2 separate regions of the Homo sapiens genome follow, and region 1 is linked to region 2. The links are contacts of gene promoters, found by promoter capture Hi-C in human tissues and cell types (Jung and others, 2019). All regions are on one chromosome and are shown on one strand. Each heading gives the region's core, a stretch centred on a gene start or on the middle of the fragment in contact. The rest is flanking DNA. Distances are from core to core; before and after follow the strand shown.

Region 1 (4,193 bases), core at 1,145-3,644, 81 kb after region 2:
TTCTAAAATCTCGCATCTGCAAGACATCTTGAAGGTCCTCCAAGCCACCCCTCCTATGCTTCAGTCCTCTCACTGACTTCCCACTGAGAGGCCCACACAACCAGTCCATTTGAATTTCCAGTTTGGGGAAGTTTTCTGTGTCTGAGGCACATACTATTTCCTCCACCTCTGAACAGCAATATTAGAAAAGTCTCCCTGAAATTAAGCCACATGAAACACATCTGCCCACTCTTCCATGGGCATCTGCCACTCTTTGAAGGCAACTCAGGAGGGTTGCATCTTATTTTAACACCTTATTTTCAGTCTTATTTTCTCCGGGCTGGACTACCTCGCTTAGTTCTCCTATTGAACTGGTTTTAAGTATTCCTAACCTGGGGGACAAGATAGAGCACTAGGTAAGAACAGGGGCTCTGAAGTTATAATAGCTAGTTTCAAATCTCAGTTCTACCTTTTGATAGCTGTATGACTTTGGATAAGTCAACCTCCCTGAGCCCCAATCTCTTAATCAAGAATGGGAATAATTTGTAACCTACCACCTACATTGGTTCTGAGATTAACAAATACACTTGAGGACTGGCCCATAAATGCACTTAGCACATGTTAATTATTTTTGCTATTATTTAATATTATTATTGCCACTCTCTCTGCATAAGTATCCATCTTATTCCACTGAGGGTCCCTGGTCCAGGGTTCAGTTGCTCTCTTTAAACCACCTGTAAATAAGCATAATGGGGTTTTGTTGCCTAAAACATCTCTAAAGTATCCACATGCTGGGGTTTCAGGTCATACCAGGAAGAATTGCCACAATCCTAGAGAATCTTTCTTGGGATTCCTTCTCATAAAGAGCCTCTAACCATAACAAACCTTGCTAAAACAATATCTTAATAGTAGTGCTACTTTTAACAGCACTATAGAAAAAAAAACAACTTTTGTTCCTCTAAGTTCTGCCGGGCACATCTCACATTCTGTGGGGGATATGGTAAGCTACTGGTGTAACACAACTCAGTGAAAGGAAGAAATTCTACATTTCAATAATAATAACCACTAATATTCACTGACTACACAAATGTATATTGAGTGCTCACTATGTGTCAGACACTAAACTAAGCTCTAGGATATAACCATGAACAAGACAGACGTGTAATGTATACTCTAATGGGATAGATAAAAGGAACAAAAATGTTTATAATCTTAGCTGGGTTCCCCTCAGAAGCAGATCCTGAGATGAGGATTGAATGCTTATAGATTATCTGGGAGGCGTAAGGACATTGGCAGGGGAGTGATGGCATCATATAGGGAAGAGAGGGCGGCCAAGAAAGCTGTGTTATGAGGCCAGCTACTGCAGTGGGCAGTAAAGCTTAATCTTTTGAGGAAACTCTGGGAAACAGTATAAAACCCAGACCTTAGAACTGTGCTGGCCAAGAGATGAGAGATCTGGGTTATTTATACCCTCATACCTGTCATTGGTTAAGAGCTGCCCCCAAAGGCAAAGTACATTCTAGAATCTCAATAGAAGGCATTCAACAAAATCATAGGTGCCAGCTATTGGAAGTGAAGCTGAATTGCACAGAAATGGTAAAGGCTCTGAAGAAATATAGGCAGAACACCAACAGTCTCTCTCTCTCTCTCTCTGTCACACACACACACACACACACACAAATAATAAAAATAATTGCAAATTGCAATGTGTCTGCTATATAAACTAAATATAGACAAGGGTATGAAATGGAGGATAAAAGGAAAGATATTTTATTAGGGTGGTCAAAAAAAGACCTCTCTAAGGGAGGCATTTATGCTGATACCTGAAGGATGAGAGGAAGGCAGGGAAGTGGGTTCCAATGAGGGAGAACATCCTGACCCTGTTCTCAAAGAGTGGAGAGGACTTGGCAAGATCTGAGTTCTGGAAACTGAGAGAAAACCCACGTGGCTGAGGGGTGGTAAGCACTGAGGCGAGTGGCATGAGATAAGCTGCAGGGGAAGATGCAGAGGGACAAAGAAACCATGGTAATTGTGTTAGGCCATTCTTGCATTGCTATAAATACCTGAGACTGGGTAATTTATTTACTTGTTTAACTTTTATTTTAGGTTCAGGGGTACATGTGAAGGTTTGTTATACAGGTAAGCACATGTCACAGGGGTTTGTTGTACAGGTTATTTCATCACCCAGGAATTAAGCCTAGTACCCAAAAGTTACTTTTTCTGCTCCTCTCCCTCCTCCTATCCTCCACCTTCGAGTAGACCCCAGTGTCTTTTGTTCCCTTCTTTGTGTCCATGTGTTCTCATCATTTAGCTCCCACTTAAAAGTGAGAACATGCCGTATTTGGTTTATTGTTCCTGCATTAGTTTGCTAAGGACAATGGCCTTCAGCTCCATCCATGTTCCCTCAAAAGACACGATCTCATTCTTTTTATGGTTGCATAGTATTTCACGGTGTATATATATCACATTTTCTTTATCCAATCTGTCATTGATGGGCATTTAGATTGATTCTATGCCTTTGCTATTGTGAACAGTGCTGCAATGAACATTCATGTGCATGTGTCTTTGTGGTAGATGCTTTATATTTCTCTGGGTATATACCCAGTAATGGGATTACTGAGTGGAATGGTACTTCTGCTTTTAGCTCTTTGAGGAATCGCCATATGGCTTTCCACAATGGTTGAACTCATTTACACTCCCACCAACAGTGTATAAGGATTCCCTTTTCTCCGCAACCTCGCAAGCATCTGTTATTTTTTGACTTTTTGATAATAGCTCTTCTGACTAGTGTGAGATGGTATCTCACTGTGGTTTTGATTTGCATTTCTCTAATGATCAGCGATATTGAGCTTTTTTTATATGCTTGTTGGATGCATTATGTCATCTTTTGAAAAGTGTCTGTTCATGTTCCTTGCCCACTTTTTAATAGGGTTGTTTGTTTTTCTCTTATAAATTTAAGTTCCTTATAGATGCCAAATATTAGACCTTTGTCAGATGCATAGTTTGCAAATATTTTCTCCCATTCTGTAGGTTGTCTGTTTACTCTGTTGACAGTTTCCTTTGCAGTGCAGAAGCTCTTAAGTTTAATTAGATTCCATTTGTCAATTTTTGCTTTTGTTGCAATTGCTTTTAGTGTCTTTGTCATGAAATCTTTGCCCGTTCCTATGTTCCAGGATGCTATTACCTAGGTTGTCTTCCAGGATTTTTATAGTTTGGGATTTTACATTTAGAGAATGGATAATTTATAAGAAAAGAGGTTTAATTGGCTCATGGTTCTGCAGGCTGTCCAGGCAGCATAGCTCCAACATCAGCTTTGGGGAGACCTCAGGAAGCTTACAATCATGGCAGAAGGCAAAGTAGGAACAGACATGTCACATAGTGAAAGCAGGAGCAAGGAGCGAGAGAGAGAGAGAGAGGGAGAGAGTGGAGAGGAGAGGGTCGGGGAGTTGCCACACACTTTTAAATGACCAGAGGTGGGGGGAAGTGCCACACACTTTTAAATGATTGGATCTCATGAGGACAGCACCAAGGGATGGTGCAAACCATTCATAAGAAATCCACCCCCATGATCCAATCGCCTCCCACTAGGTCCCACCTCCAGTACTGGTGATTATGATTCAACATTAGATGTGGGTGGGGACAAATATACAAACTATATCAGTAACGAAGGGGGTTGGGTACTAGATGTAATGAGAAAGATTAAAGCAGGGAATAACCTGATCTGATTTTCAGTTCAAAAACTGACCTGATTTTCAGTTGGGGAACAAAATCATGTCCTTTGCAGTAACATAGATGCAGCTGGAGGCCATCATCCTAAGTGAATTATTCCAGGAACCGAAAACCAAATACTGCACGTTCTCACCTGTAAGTGGGAGCTAAACATTGGGTACTCATGGTCATAAAGATGGCAACAATAGACACTGGGGACTACTAGGTGGGGAAGGAAAAGAGGGGGATAAGGATTGAAAAACTATCTATTGGGTACTATGCTCAGTACCTGGGTGACAGGATCATTCGCGCCCTAAACCTCAGCATCCCACAATATACTCAGGTAACAAACCTGCACATGGACAGGAATCTAAAATAAAAGTTGAAGAGAAAAAGGAAGATCAGGGTATTAGAAAGGTGGGAAGAACATAAAATGAGCTTCCAGTACCAAAACTTGTCAGAGAAGTAGAGCAAAATTTTCCCACTCTCCCTGTCTTTGTCCTGTC
Region 2 (4,043 bases), core at 446-2,945:
GGTTCTCTAAAAAAAGGAACATGCCCTAAAGCAAAACATTTGTAGCATCAGAAGATCTGGATTCTTATTCTGACTCTGTACCCAATGACCCTGTAGTATCAGATGGATCCCTTAACAACTTGGCACTCAATTTTTCTCTTCTGCAAAATGGGAATGACCATACTTTGGCCTTTCTCCCCAAGGTTATAGTAAAGACCCAATGCCATAGATATAGACAGAGATAGTACATGATGACACTTTGTACTGCATACGTCACCCCATTAAGATAAGAGGTCATTCATTTCAGCCCCTTTTAATATCAAAAACAAGCCTAGTGTTATCTTCGGTAATTGTGAACATGCCCATAATTATACTTTTACCAATGCCAGTAAAGCCAGTAATACATTTGTCTGCAATAGATGTGTTATCTATTCCCTTAGGAAACTAACAATAAAAATAATTCAAGAGTAATTATCTGGCTTTCACACTTTAAAGATGAGAACACATCCTGGTGTGCTATTCATTAATAACGTGGATACATTATATAATTGTATTTTATCTTTTTTAAGAAGTCATTCATGGTCCCACTGACAGCATATATACATCTCCTATGAATTTTTGGATACCAGTGTATGTTTTCCAGGTTCTACCTTAAAAGAAAATCATGTATGGACTTTTGATTATCCATGGTACTGGGAAGTAATTGAAATTCATAGATTAAACACATTCTTCAATCGAACCATTAGCTCAAACTTCTTCCTCACATAACATATCCTCTGGCTGATTTGCGTTTCACCATCCCTTCCCAGGACTCCAACTACCCAGAGCTTATGCTAAGGAGCAATGGAAAGGAAAAATAAATAGACAAAGCAGGCAGTATGAGGAAGGCAATAGGGGTAAAAAACAAGACATGGATAAACTGCAAGCTGAGTAATTGGCTGGAGTAAAATGAGCACTTTCAAATACTCAGCTCTTTCAGGAAACAAAATGACTGCATAATTGTCTAAAACCGCAGTCTGACAACCTGAAAACCACTGCACCTCTATTTAATTTACATTCCAGGAAAACTCAGTCAAAGATCCAATTACAATGTATTACCTTGGATGGAATTTGAATACTATATATGCTCATTGCACTTTCCAATTAGTAGTCAACAAGCATGTTATTTTTACCCCAGAAATATTCGTCTAATAACAACTTCCCATTTGGTGCACCAACAGTTCTGGTTGGTACCGGAGGGGGAGCAAGACACAAATCTGAACCATTTAGGAGTTTCTCTAAACACGTTTTAGGAAGCCCTACCCTTAAAGCCTATATGCCATGCACAATACCAACCTTATGGTCATTCGCCTTGTAATCGTTGAACCGAGGCTGGCCGCCTGCCAAGGTGTAGGCATTACCCTCTCTAAACACACTGATCCTCTGAGCAGTCAGCTTAGGGGAGCACATCTGGGGCCTGGGGACTTCCCCAGACCCATAAACACCATCCATTGTTTCAAGAGACTCTTGCAGAAAACTGTGAGGGTATTCCTCCTTTGGTGACTCTAATTCCTGCCCATCCTCAAAGACCTGCTTCAATACTCGACCGCTGTAGGAGGAGGAGATTTTAAATCGTACTTTCCGGGGTTTGCCATCACTCTTCTGATTCAGCTTTTTCTCAGGGTCCTCCATCAGCAGAAAGTTGACCCTGTGGTCTCCAGCCTTCCGTGCAGCCGGTGAAACTTGGGCCTCTGAGAAAAAGGCATTTTATTTTCTCTCCTCCTGCATATAATTAATTCAAGTTGTTGCTGGGGTATGGTCAGTTTACAGCAACTGACACCCATACATTAAATATTGATAGACCCTCATGAAAAGGCAGGTGATTCTGGTTTGATGGAGTGGATGGAATATAAGACAAGATTGATTCTTCTCATAATCCCAAGCTCACCATGACTTCACCCCAACCCTAACCTTTCTTAACCTGAGGATGAAGAAGTTTATTTAGACTGAACATGTGCCAATTCAATAAGGATCAGACACTCAATTAGTTAACAAGTGTCTTCTTATTGTTAGCAATGACAATTAAAATCTAGTGAGCATTTCATAAGTACCAGAGATTGTTACATGCATTATTTTATTTCATCCTCACGATAACCCTACAAAGAAAATCTTACCTTTGTTTTACACAGGGGAAAGTGAGGCTTAGAGCCACTTGTCATTTATCTTCATCATTTGTCTGCTCTATTACACCTAAGTAAGTGACAGAGCAGGGATTTGAACCCAGATCTATCTGACTCCAAAACCCAAGATCAGCCCACACAACCAGAAGTTTTCCAGTTCTGGTTCTAGAAGAGGGAATGACGTCCTAGATACAGTGGAGGTTCTTGGAGGCTGCTGCTAAGAACAGGAGAAGGCCGAGGGTCCTGGATTCTGGGCCTTCTCCCCCTACGCTAACCAGAGCACCTCCACTTGGTATGTATTTTACATTTAAGATTTCATTTGCAATCACAGCACAAGTCCCCATTGCCTGTTGGACTTCGTAAATGCCTGACACTGAACTAGTGGCTGGAGTGAATAGCACAGAAGCATGTGACCTGGGCCTGAGAACAGTCCTACAATCCCATACAGACCTCACACAGGTGAAATAATAACCTCATGCTTAGAGAGCAAACTGCCCACAGCTGAATCCCAGAATAGCCACTCTGGGAAGGAAGTGGTCTCTAAGGAGACAAGGATGGAAGAAGGTTTGTAAAGAAAAGGGCCCTTGGGCTGGGTAGAAAATGGTAGGTTGGATGTGAGGAGCTGAAAGTGGAGTAAAGCCTTTCTCCCTGTCTTTGCTACCAGCATCACCATTTACTGAGTTACCCAAATTGACCCCTCCTATTCCCCTACAGCCATTCGCTTGGATTCTTTTTTTTTATTATTTTATTTTATTTTTTTTTTTTTGAGACGGAGTCTCACTCTGTTGCCAGGCTGGAGTGCAGTGGTACGATCTCGGCTCACTGCAACCTCCACCTCCTGAGTTCGAGCAATTCTCATGCCTCAGCCTCCCGAGTAGCTGGGACTACAGGCACACGCCACCATGCCCAGCTAATTTTTGTATTTTTAGTAGAGATGGAGTTTCACCATGTTGGCCAGGATGGTCTCAATCTCTTGACCTCGTGATCCGCCTGCCTTGACCTCCCAAAGTGCTGGGACTACAGGCATGAGCCACCGCACCCAGCCCATTCACATGGATTCTTTCACCACTGCCTTCTTTCATCTACCCCTATCACCCTGGCCCTAGGGCAAACCCTCATCACTTTGATTTTTAAAGTTGCAGCTGTCTCCCAAGGACTTCCCTACTCACCCCCAATTCCATTCTCCATATTGATGTGAGAGCAATAGTCCAAAACAACAAATCCACAGGTGTCAGTCTCTTGCTGAAAAATCTTTTCTAGTGCATCAGGGCTTAAGTCTTAACTGTTCCATGTGACAAGCAAAGCCCCTCAAAAACCAGCCTCACCTTCCTTCCTTTCCAGCCTTGCCCTCTGTCACTCTTCCAGGGGCTGCCTGGGATTGGTGTTCCAGTTACACCAACAAGCTTACCCATTTCTCAAACCCACAAGTTTCTGTCTCTTATCCAGTACTCTGTCTCCTGATTTAGAGTGTCAAATTTCCATTCCTCCTTCAAGTCACACCTCAAATGTCACTGCTTCTGGGCAGCCTTCCCACCTTCCCCAGGGAGAGTGCCATGGGACTTTCGGACCTACCGCCATTCAGATGCTTCTCACTTTCCCTTGCCCTTCCTATTTTTCCCTCCATTCAACTGTGAACATCTTGCAGTCAGAAGTTGTCCTTACTATCTGTCTATTCCCAGTGTTTATCAAAGTGCCCAGTACATAATAGAACTCAGTAATTGTTAAATGAATGACTTCAAGTGAGAGAAACCAAATACACAAAGCTTTTCAAAAAGGAATTGAGCATATTTTGTATAGAATAGTGAAGAGGTGGCTGGGCGCGGTGGCTCACGCCTGTAATCCCAGCACTTTGGAAGGGCCGAGGCAGGTGGATCACGAGGTCAAGAGATTAAGACCATCCTGGCC

Evidence for each region. The method cuts DNA at HindIII sites, captures the fragments that hold promoters and counts their contacts. A contact is called where the count stands out against the background at its distance.
Region 1: a fragment that was not itself captured here is called in contact with the fragment with the promoter of GRXCR2 in region 2 in 2 of the 25 tissues and cell types used here (H1 embryonic stem cells and pancreas).

Annotation. Positions count from the first base shown.
Region 1 is chr5:145,951,491-145,955,683 of GRCh38, forward strand. All of the region lies in intron 2 of SH3RF2 (SH3 domain containing ring finger 2), which reads left to right. The region is part of intron 3 of LOC107986458 (a long non-coding RNA gene); the gene reads right to left. Among named protein-coding and RNA genes, the nearest start is that of SH3RF2, 17 kb to the left of the region's middle. The HindIII fragment of the contact is 3,739 bases long and covers 526-4,193 here.
Region 2 is chr5:145,871,319-145,875,361 of GRCh38, forward strand. It overlaps GRXCR2 (glutaredoxin and cysteine rich domain containing 2), which reads right to left and starts at 1,696. Exons shown (of 3, transcript NM_001080516.2): 1 at 1,315-1,696. The coding sequence starts at 1,650. The HindIII fragment of the contact is 8,071 bases long and covers 1-3,721 here.